2 separate regions of the Homo sapiens genome follow, and region 2 is linked to region 1. The links are contacts of gene promoters, found by promoter capture Hi-C in blood cells and fetal thymus (Javierre and others, 2016). All regions are on one chromosome and are shown on one strand. The core of a region is centred on a gene start or on the middle of the fragment in contact, and the rest is flanking DNA. Distances in the headings are between cores, read along the strand shown.

Region 1 (6,720 bases), core at 1,518-4,017:
CCCGCGTGGGCTGAGGTCACAGGACTCATGGGGAATTCAGCCTGGTACTTAGGATATTCGTGTATTGATCTTAGACGGAGTGGGGCATCAGCTGCTCCCGCCTTGGTCAGAAGGAAAGTGTGGAACTGCCGCCATGACTGACACAGCAGGGTCACGTTCTCTCCTGAGGCCACTGTGGGGCCTGGCTGCACTGAGATGAAGGGTGTGCCACGGATCTGTCCTGGAGAGAAGAAGGATGGGTGAGGGGCTGCCCCACCTTGCTCTGAGCTGAGACCTCCCCAGGCCTCTCTAGGAGCCTCTGTCTCTGTTTTCTCTGAGTCTTCCCCTCCCCACCCATCCCCTGTCTCTCTCTCTGTCTCTCCCTCCCTTGGGACCACCCCCCGCCTCATCCTGGCCATCACTAATTGGATTCCCCCGGCAGGGCCTGTGCAGAGTCTGGGTCCCTGACTGAACCCGCTGGGCTCCTCACCTGTGATCAGGATGTCCAGGGGGTCGCTGGGGGCCGAGCACTCAGAGGAGAGGTTGTGTGCACCGTAGCATCTGTACTGGCCCCCGTAGGAGCGGCTCACAGGGCCCAGGGTGAAGTTGGCCTGGGAGAGCCCAGCCTGGGGCTGCCGGCCAGGGAGCTGGCGAAGGTCACGTTCCCCCTCCTTGTACAGAACAAATCTGTCATAGCCGACATCAGAGACACACTGGAGGGTCAGGCTTTCCCCAGGGGCCATGACAGGACCCGGCTGCACTGAGAGTGATGGCTTCTTAGAAACACCTGGGAAAAGGTGCTCATGGTTTCCAGGAGCCGACCCTCAGGCTTCCCCACAAACCCTCCCTCTCCCCCGGTGCCTCACCACTGCTGATCTTCCTGTGTCTCTGGCCCCAGGACCCCTGAGCCCTCTCGCCCCAACATCATCCCACCTGGAACTGCCCTGAGACACGGCTGCTCCCCACCTGCCTGGAGACTCAGGGAGACTCAGGGAACTCCAGACAATGCTGTGAATTTCTCACCTGGGACCAGGAGCTCCAGGAGATCACTGGGTGAAGACCACACATAGGGAGAGTTCAAGTCATAACCATAGCACCTGTGCGACCACCTGCGATTCGGGCTCACGGGGCCCACGGAGAAGATGGCGCGGGACGACCCACGGGCATGGGGCTGGGAGTTCAGGCATTGTGGGTGTTCATCTTCTCCTTCCTTACACAGAATGAAGCCGCCAAATGCCACCTGTGACTCACACTGGAGGGTCACCCTTCCTCCTGAGGTCACCACAGGGCTGGGCTGGGCTGAGAGGGTGGGTTTTGGGTAGGCTCCTAGGAGAGAAGGAGGCATCGTGTTAAATGGGGCTCCCACCTCCCACATCATCCCCAGGGCTGGGCTGTGAGAGGGAGACACCCCTGAGAGCCTCCTTCCTGAGGGCAGAGCCTGGGGCTGGGATCCCTGAGTGTCCTCTCACCTGTCATCACCAGCACCAGGGGGTCACTGAGCTCAGACCACCGAGCGCGGCTGTAATACTGACAGCCATATCGCCCTGTGTGTTCCCAGGTGATGGATGGGATGTGGAACTGGCCGTTCTTCACAAGCTCTGGTCGTATCCGTGTAATCCAAGATGCTGATTTTTTCTCCCTATATAGACGGTACTCCTGGGCTTCAAGGCTCCCCTGACAACTGAGGGTGACGGGACTCCCCTGGGTGATCACAGAGTCTGGCTCAGCCCACAGGGTGGGCTTGGGGATGGTCCCTGGAAGGAAATCAAAGGTCAGATTCGAAGTCATTTCCCACCCAACAGATCTCAGCTCTCAGCCCAGGACCCTCCAGATGCCCCCATCAGTCAGTCCAGAACTTCTAATCCCCATCCCCAGCTGCACGGAGGTGGCCCCTTGTCCCCAGTGAGGAGGAGGGACCTGGGAGAGCTGGGGACAGACTCACCTGTCTGCACGCGGGTCCTGGGGCCCAGACTCAGCCCTGGAAGAGAGTTCCCTGTGAGGGATTTGCCCCCTGAAGCCTGAGCAGGTCCTCCCCTCCCTGGGATCTTTGTGAGCCCCTGGGGTCTCCTTAGGGACCAGAGTTTGGCTGTGGGGTGAGGTCCCTCCTAGGTTAGAAGCTCCCCTCTCTCTTCAAATCTCACCGAGACAGATCAGGACTGTGACGATGGGGGTCATGGCGTCTCCTCCCACTGCCCTGCTCTGCGGATGGATGAGCCCTCGGTGCTGGCGGGACAGAGACACACAGAGAGAAATAGCCTCCCCTCCTTCCCACCCTGTGTGGACACTCAGAGGCTGGGTCCTTCTCATGGGGTGTTGTCATCTGCAGCCACACAAGAAGCGGAACTGCCCTCCCAGGAGCCTGACTCTCATTCTTTTAGAGCTGAGGTGGGGGCAGGCACTGGGCCCTCTGCAGACATTTCAGACTGTAATGGGGTCTTTCCTGACCCCCAGCCACTGTCTGTCTGGTTTCTCCTCGTCTCACCGAGAGCCGGGATGTAGCAGCAAATAGAACTGGTGCTTCTTGTGTCTGCCCTTCCTGATGAGGGTAGCAGTGGCTTCCCCTTCCTTCTCACAGCTTCCCACATGGTCACCCTCCCTCCTTCAGCCCATCCATCAGCACAGCGTTGTGGGGTCCTTACCATGGCAGTCGTCCCTCCAGCCCTGGAGATGCTTCAGGGAAGACCCAGGTCCATGCTGCAGGCAGACTCAGATCAGCAGAGAAGCATCTCGCCTCTGGCTGTGCTGTCCAGGTTGAGCTGTGTGTGGCAGTGAGCACAGAGGAGAAATGCAGGGAAGTAGGGGAAGAAAAGTTGACTTCTTTCTTGACACTGGATTGTGGGTTTTCTTTCAACCAAATAGTCCCCTCTTAACTTCCCCTTTTTAAATGTTTTTGCTCCAGCGTCCACTCCCTCCCCCCCGGGAAGAAACCTCTGAGTCTTTCCTGCCTCCTCGGTGCCCATTGCGTCCTTAGCCGTCCCTCTGCACCTCAATTCCTGGTCAACATTTTGGGAACAATGACTTATGTTTGAGCTTTGATTTGGGGAGTGGGGGAGGGAGTTGATATTTATTTGATGACTGGTTATCATCCGCTGCCTACGTGACCTTGGTTTGTAATGTCCCATCACTGAGCCTCAGTTTCTTCCTTTGCAGATTGTTGTCATGAATCCCACTCGTCACAGTGGTTGTGGGGTCAGTGGTGCCTGGGACATTGGGAGGGGCTCATTTGTGCTTGATTTCCAGACCAGGGTAAGACCTGAGGCTTTGGGACGTGAGAGGATCTTGCTGTTGGACTCCACATTCTGTAGGTGATTGATGAGTCCACTCAAGATGTCACATCTGACCGTAATGGAGAAACGTATGTGTAGCATTTCTGAAATACCCAGAGTATCAAGGTCATGAGCAGAAAAAGACATGTGGAAACCCCAAGTGTAGACGGACTCACAAGAAAGAACAGAGGCCAGAGGTGAGATGCCACAGGGTCCCGGGACCATCAAGGGCTCATTAGGGTGGAGGTTTCCACCACTGAGTGGAGCCGGGAGAGGAACCCCGGGATCTGCAATGACAGTGAGGGGCTCAGGGCTCCAGACCAAGGTGGGAGGCTGCGTCCTCTAGCTACACCTGAGGCTGGAGTGGACCCCAAGCAGCCCAGGGGAATTCCCTCAAGGGAGTGCACCAAACTGTCCAGACCTGCTGGAATTCCAAGGAAAGAAGCACTAAACACCAGGGTGTTCATAGAGCATTTATTAGGGGGACCTCTGCACAGTGGGGCATCCTTGTCTTCTTGCCCAGTGTCTCCTTGTGGATCTCAAGGATGTGCTTCCACATAGCAGCATGTTCTTCAGATGGACAAGGAGACACTGGGTATTCTATCCAAAGCTTTAACCTAAAATAAAAACAAAACCAAAAATAAACCCCTAGAAAATATGATCTCTCAGTACAGTTGTTTCTTGGGATACACAGGCAATTCGTTTCAGTACCCCCTACATGTACCAACACTTGCTCGTACTCCAGCCCTGACGTTGTCTCTGCTGGGTCTGCATATAGGAAAAGTCTGCCGTTCATATACGCAAGTCTTGTTTCTCACAAATGCTATAGTTTTGATCCCCGTTTGTTTGGAAAAAGTGTGCATATAAGAGACCCCTGGAATTCAAGGCTGCATTGCTCCAGGGTTGCCTGGATTTTGAGTTTATTTGGGAGTGAGAAGCAAGGATTACAATATGGAGTGCATGGCATGGCAAGCCACAGTGTGTCCAGAGAGGGAAGTGTGATGTTGTGATATATGCTGGTTTTCACCCGCAGTTCCTGGCTTGTAACTCCCATAGCCCTTGTTATAGTCTTTTGTTATAACATTGGCTGTGCTGGGCCTCAGGGGAGGCCTCTGACCTCCTCCTGCCCTTCCTTCACCTAACCCAAAGTAAGACTCGAATGTTCCCTGCCTTTCTGATAGTGGATCTTAAGACCCTCCCAGAAGACAGTCTCACCCTGTTCCTTGTGGGAGGAAATGCTGATGTCATGAAGCTTTCATAAAAGCCCCAGAGGACTGGGTTTCATGAGTTTCTGGGTGGCTGAGCATGCTAAGGCTCCTGGAGGGCGACGCCCAGGGAGGGTATGGAAGCCCCGGGCCTCTTCCCCCATGCCTCCTCCTATGAGTTTCTTCATCTGTGTCCTCTGCAGTGTGCTTTGTATTCAACCAGGAAATGTCAGTGTTTCCTGAGTTCTGTGAGCTGCTACAGCAAATTAATCAAACCCAAAGAGTGGGGCATGGGATCCCCAACTTGAAGCCAGTCAGTCAGAAGTTCTGGAGGTCTGGACTTGGGAATGGTGTTGGGGGCAGTTTTGGGGAATGGGCCTTCAATCTGTGGGATCCGGGACTGTCTCTGGGTAGACAGCACCAGAGCTGACTTAGAGGACACCCAGCTGCTGTTCGCTACTGCGTCTGGGGAAAAAAACCCCATACATCTGGTCCTAGAAGTCTTTTTCTGTGTTGATGATTCCTGTGACGTGAGAGTAGAGGAAAAGCACCGTAGAGAGAGCTCTCTGTACATAGAGAGGTAAAGGAAGTTCTTATCAGCAACAAGGGAGAGCCTGACAGAGCTGCCTGGAAACAGAGTTCCCTGGTTCCACAGGTTCAAAGCCAGAGTTGCTGTCAGTCCATTGGAGGAGATGCTGTTGCTGGTCAATGGTTCTCTTGAGAGCATCTTATCTGAATTCCTGACGTCCTAAAGAACATCTAGTGATAAACCTTGTCAAAGCAGAAGGGGCTGAAGGACATGGAAGAGTTTCTTATGGGTTTTTTAAAAGTCCTTAGAAACAGTTCTTATCTGAGACGTGGAAGCATGGGCCTCCTCTCCTTCAGGCCTTCCTGGCCCTGTGGGGTCTGAGTTTGACCAAAGTCATCTCATCCTTGCACCTGTAACTTTTCTATTGGGAGTCTGCAGTGAAGGGATGGGGTTACGAAGTTTAACCTGAGAGTTTCAGGAATTTGGTTCAGGGGAGGGCTTGTTTCTACACTTTTAGCAAAAGGGTTAATTTTTCAGTGTTTTCTAGAAACAACCTAAAGTGCTTTATCAGTACTTGGGGATGCTCAAGACCTCAGCTTGGGTTCCAGCCTGCAGGTGGAAACATGCATCTGTCCAACCCACAGAACAGTCATGGCCCTTTGTCTCACTCTCAGAACAAGGAAAAAAGTGGAGGAAACTGTGGGACCTTAGAGACTGTGACTCCCCCTCTTCTGTGTTTGTGGACAGACCCTGGGATGACTCAGTGACCCGGGCTACACTCAGCACTGAGCCACCTTCCCGGGTGTGCATGACACAGATGCGCTTTATCATTGTTGGACCGGGCATCTCTGACCCTGGAGTGTGAGGCTCACATGGACCCCGCCATGCCGGGCATAACACAGAGGTGATTCTAAGCTTGGGAGCATGGACACCGCAGGGCAGGAGCGGCTACAGCAATGCCCTCATCAGCTTTCCTTCCTGAGTCAGCCTGGGGAGAAACCCTATATGGAAGATCAGGTGTGTGGGAGAAAAACCCACCCCAGAGGAATAAAAATCAAAGAGTCCGTTAGAGAAAAAACAGGCAATTGTAGAAATGAATTAGGAAGCTATTGTGATGTGAAAATAGTAAATTATATTAACACATTTAGAAATAATTTCATCCAGAACAAGACACAGCTGAAATGATAAACATTGTATTGGTGTAGAATATTTACTAAAATTTTTCATTAGTCATCAGAGAAAAACTAGAAATGAAAAAAATAGAAAAGATAATTAATGCACACAAGAAATGGAATGAAAAGAGGAAACAGATATCTCTCTTTGGATCACACTTTCAGAATGAAGGAAATAAGGAGTATGTTATTCAGTAAATACTTGCAAAGAAAATGGTTGACATTTTTATAGAAATGAAGAAAGAACATGAGTTTAACGTGAACAAATTCATAAATAACATCAATGTCTTAACTATGATAGAGTAAAAGATACCTAGAATAGATACAAAGTAATTTTAAAACTACTGGAGAAAATGAAAATTATTGTCCAATGAAAGACAAGCACATTGGGACTGGATTTCCCAAGAGTAAAAAGTGCAAGAAAATGACTGGGGGCTGAGGTTCAAGTTGGCTGAATGGAAAGGGCTGGAGTCTGCCTACTCACTAAGAGGACCCAAAATAGCGAGTAAATACCAACAGGTCAAGTGGATCTTCCAAGAGGATGCTGGGGTTCACCTGAGAAACATGAG
Region 2 (3,822 bases), core at 1,323-3,822, 130 kb before region 1:
CTCAGGGTCCCCTGGGTGTCTGGGTAGACCGTGGGGCCTTTGTGAAGAGGAGCGACTTGGGGGAAGGTGAGTGCAGGTTGAGCTTGGGCCACAGAGTAAAAGTGAGACCTGAAGGACACCCATGGCAAGAGGCCTCCTGGCACCCAGAGGGCCCTGGTCCTAGGGAGAGCACAGTGGGTAGAGACAAGGCAGAACATGGAGAAGGCAGAGAACCAGGCCTGAAGGAAGACAGGAGTCTGGGACAAAGCTGGATGTTGGGGTCCCAGGTTCTAAAATCCGGGATTGTGGGGTATGAGTTCAAAGGGATACAAACTGTACAGACTTGCTGAAACCAGAAAGACAGGGAGGGGAGAGCCGGGTCCTCAGGGAAGCTGTGGGTGGGAGAGGGTCAGGAAGTGGAAGATGACAGGGTTGGGTGTCAGACTCTGAGGGGTTTGGGAACCAGGGGCTTTCGGGGAGATGATGGGTCCTTGAACAGAGCAGAGATTTGGAACCAAGGCTAAGATGTTAAATCCTAAAGGGGCCTTGAGGGGAGGGCAGGAGCGAGGCTTAGGAATCTGGGCTCTCTCAGGGATAAATGGGTAGGGTTGGGGGCCTAGTGATGACAGATATCACAATTCTAAACAGCAAGCTCCTCACAAATGGGGGTTATCATTGTTACTGCTGGAGCAGGTCGGAGGGTATCTGTATGCCAGAGGCAGTCACAGTGGTGGGCGGGCTCAGTTGAGAAATCTGGGCTGTCAGGTGAGGTGCAGATGGAGGCCAAGTCGTGGGATGGCACAAGGACCTCTGGGTCTTTTAGAGGTTTCCAAGGACTCCTGGAGCCAGAAAGGTGTGGGGAGAGGAGGGAGCAGTGGGATCCCAAGATGTCAAGGCTAAGATTGGTCCCCACAGGGCTCAGAGGGTGGGTGGACCCCATACTGCCCCACCCCGAAGGGGATGGCGTGGAGGCTTTGGGTCTCCACAGGGGTCAGGGACTGAGGACAGGTTCTGTGGGGGCAGGAGGGGCCAAGCAGGTGCTCTGCAGCCCCTGAGCCTGGCCCTGGGCTCGCCAGCAGAAGCAGGACCGGATTGAGGGCTTGAAGCGGCACATCGAGAAGCACCGCTACCACGTGCGCATGCTAGAGACCATCCTGCGCATGCTGGACAATGACTCCATCCTCGTTGACGCCATCCGCAAGATCAAGGACGACGTTGAGTACTATGTTGACTCATCCCAGGACCCCGACTTCGAGGAGAACGAGTTTCTCTACGATGACCTGGACCTCGAGGACATTCGTGAGGCCCTGGGGCTGATCGTGGCACAGGAAGTGAGGGCCCAGAATGGGCTGTGTGAGCCAGCTAAGCATGCCCTTCTTCTGCCCCCACAGCACAGGCGCTGGTCGCCACCTCCCCCCCCAGCCACAGCCACATGGAGGATGAGATCTTCAACCAGTCCAGCAGCACGCCCACCTCAACCACCTCCAGCTCTCCCATCCCGCCCAGCCCAGCCAACTGTACCACGGTGAGGCCCCACGGGACACTAGTACCTTGTGTTTCCAGCAGGGCAGGACTCGAGGAGACAAATCTGGGTCACTCCAAAGTGGCTATGGGAGCGTAATTGAGGAAACACAGATCTAGGTATCCAGGGTCTAGGCTCTTGGAGCACACGCTAAGGTCCTATATCTGGGTCCCTAAAGGACATAAAGAGCAATAGGGTGCATCCCGCGCCAGTTTAGGTCCTGGATCTGGGAAGTGGGAGGGGCCGGTGCCTGGGCTGCCTGAGGAGGCTGGGTAGCTGGCCACCTTGGGCAGGGATCCAAGGGTTGGCTTCCCTGTGGAGAGCAGGTTCCCAGATCCTTAAGAGGCTGGTGGGTCAGTGCTGGCTCCCAGAAAACAAGAAGACTGGAGAGCCTGAATTGAGATGGTTTCTCCAGGCAGATTAAGGACAGCCATTTGACCAGCTCTGGGGCCGCAATGGCAGTCAATTGGGCCCAGGTCCCCGGGGCATTCAGAGATTGGCGGTTCTCCATCAGAGCCCCAGAGGTCACACAGGTTTCTATTCTGCCTCCCCTACCTCAGGAAAACTCTGAAGATGATAAGAAGAGGGGACGTTCCACAGACAGTGAAGTCAGCCAGGTGGGTGTGAGCCTGGACCGGGTGGGCACGCCATTCACTCCTCTGTTGCTTCCCAAAGGCATCTTGAGGCCTGAGCGCCGGCCACTGTGCTGGGCTGGTGGACACAGGTGGCTCAGAAATCAGTGCTGCCCTGAGGGCAGGTGGGCAGGGCAAGTGGACAGGTGACTGGTGCTGTGGTCAAGGGGGTAGCACACAGGTCACCCTTGGCCTGGCCAGGCAGTCAGGAGATGCTGCTGTGGAGTGCCCTGGGCTTCACAGTCAGGTGAGTTTGCCTGGCAGGGAGAGGTGGCAGCCAGTAACATGGGCAAGTTGTGACAGAAAGTTTGGAAGTGAGGAGAGATGAGTCTGGCCAGGTCTGCAGGGCCAGGGGCCCAACTGTGAGCACAGGGACTGGGACTGTCAGGCTGAGGGGCTCAGGCTTTGTGGACCTGAGTGGCCTCCAGAGTCCAATAAGCCTAGGAAGCGATGGGGCCTTTGCTGTGCTGATAATACACACTGCAAATTTCTGAGAGGAGACGGTGGCGGGCAGTGCTTCTTCAACTCCTTTGACATCTCCCAGGACAGGAGCACGCTTTCGGAAACGCTGCTACAGAACAATGTTAGGCAGGAGCAGCATGGGCCTGAGGCCCCTCTGTGGGCTAACGGGATGGATGGTTCCAAGGGGACACCCTGAGTGGGCATTGAGGAGGCTGGTGTGGAGACTAAGGGGACCCGCAGGTAGTAGTGAGGGCGGGCAACAGGGCCAGGAGGTGATGAGGAGAGACACTGAGGCAGGTACTCCAGGGGCCAGGCTGGGCTCTGCCACCTTCCCAGGCCCCCACTGCCAAGCAGCGATGCCCAGGAGAGAAGTGGGTAGTCAGTCCTGTTGGGCGCTTGGTAAGCGCAAGGTGCCTGTGGGGTGGCTGGAAAGAAGCCCAGGAGGTGGTTAGGCTCAGCAGCCCGAGTGCTGTCCGCAGATTGCCTGCGGTAGGGATACCATGAGCACATTTACCCTCCCACCACTTTCTGGAGTGCTGGTAACTTCCAGCCCTGTGAGTAGCTTCTGTGACCCTTCAGGTGACATTCAGAATTACTATCCAATTTCCAGCTGTTTTTCCTTCTACTCTTGGACATTAGGCGGCTCCAGCTAATCTCATATTGAGAACACTTAAGTGTTTCCCACTAGTCCTCTGGCTTCCAACAGATGGATCTTCTCTGGCTGACAACCTAAGTTGTGTGTCAGATCCCTGTGGGGGTGTCCATGGGGCGGTGTCCAGGCAGGACTTGGGAAGCTGGGCAGGCTGGAAATCAGTGTGAGTGTTTTAAGCATGAAGGTGATTGAAGCCATGAGGGTGAGTAAGGTCACCCAGGTCCCCAAGAGGGCAGGAGCAGGTGGGGGCAGCGAGGCCAGAGAGGAGGCTGCTGGGACAAAGATGGAGCCTGAGGTGGGGGTGGTGAGGGAGACCAGCTGGCCCACTGGGTCCTGACCCTCTGCTCTCTCCCACCCGCAGTCTCCAGCCAAAAACGGCTCCAAGCCTGTCCACAGCAACCAGCACCCTCAGTCCCCAGCTGTGCCGCCCACCTACCCCTCCGGCCCCCCGCCTGCTGCCTCTGCCTTGAGCACCACTCCTGGCAACAATGGGGTCCCCGCCCCCGCAGCACCCCCAAGTGCCCTGGGCCCCAAGGCCAGTCCAGCTCCCAGCCACAACTCGGGCACCCCTGCTC

Evidence for each region. Contacts are between HindIII fragments. The CHiCAGO score rates a contact against its expected background, and 5 or more counts as called.
Region 2: a contact is called between a fragment that was not itself captured here and the fragment with the promoter of LILRB2 in region 1, in 1 of 17 cell types (neutrophils). The highest score is 5.9, in neutrophils.

The regions. Positions count from the first base shown.
Region 1 is chr19:54,278,343-54,285,062 of GRCh38, forward strand. LILRB2 (leukocyte immunoglobulin like receptor B2) reads right to left here and starts at 2,768. Exons shown (of 14, transcript NM_001080978.4): 1 at 2,619-2,768; 2 at 2,121-2,202; 3 at 1,922-1,957; 4 at 1,449-1,733; 5 at 1,003-1,305; 6 at 470-766; 7 at 1-220. The coding sequence starts at 2,154. It overlaps MIR4752 (microRNA 4752), which reads left to right and starts at 3,767; the gene lies at 3,767-3,838. RefSeq lists an enhancer at 682-1,881. The HindIII fragment of the contact is 13,229 bases long and covers 1-3,853 here.
Region 2 is chr19:54,144,540-54,148,361 of GRCh38, forward strand. It overlaps CNOT3 (CCR4-NOT transcription complex subunit 3), which reads left to right. Exons shown (of 18, transcript NM_014516.4): 8 at 1,059-1,278; 9 at 1,371-1,504; 10 at 2,062-2,118; 11 at 3,609-3,822. It overlaps LOC102724273 (a long non-coding RNA gene), which reads right to left. Exons shown (of 4, transcript XR_001754001.3): 4 at 2,040-2,212. Among named protein-coding and RNA genes, the nearest start is that of CNOT3, 8.7 kb to the left of the region's middle. The HindIII fragment of the contact is 6,124 bases long and covers 1-3,822 here.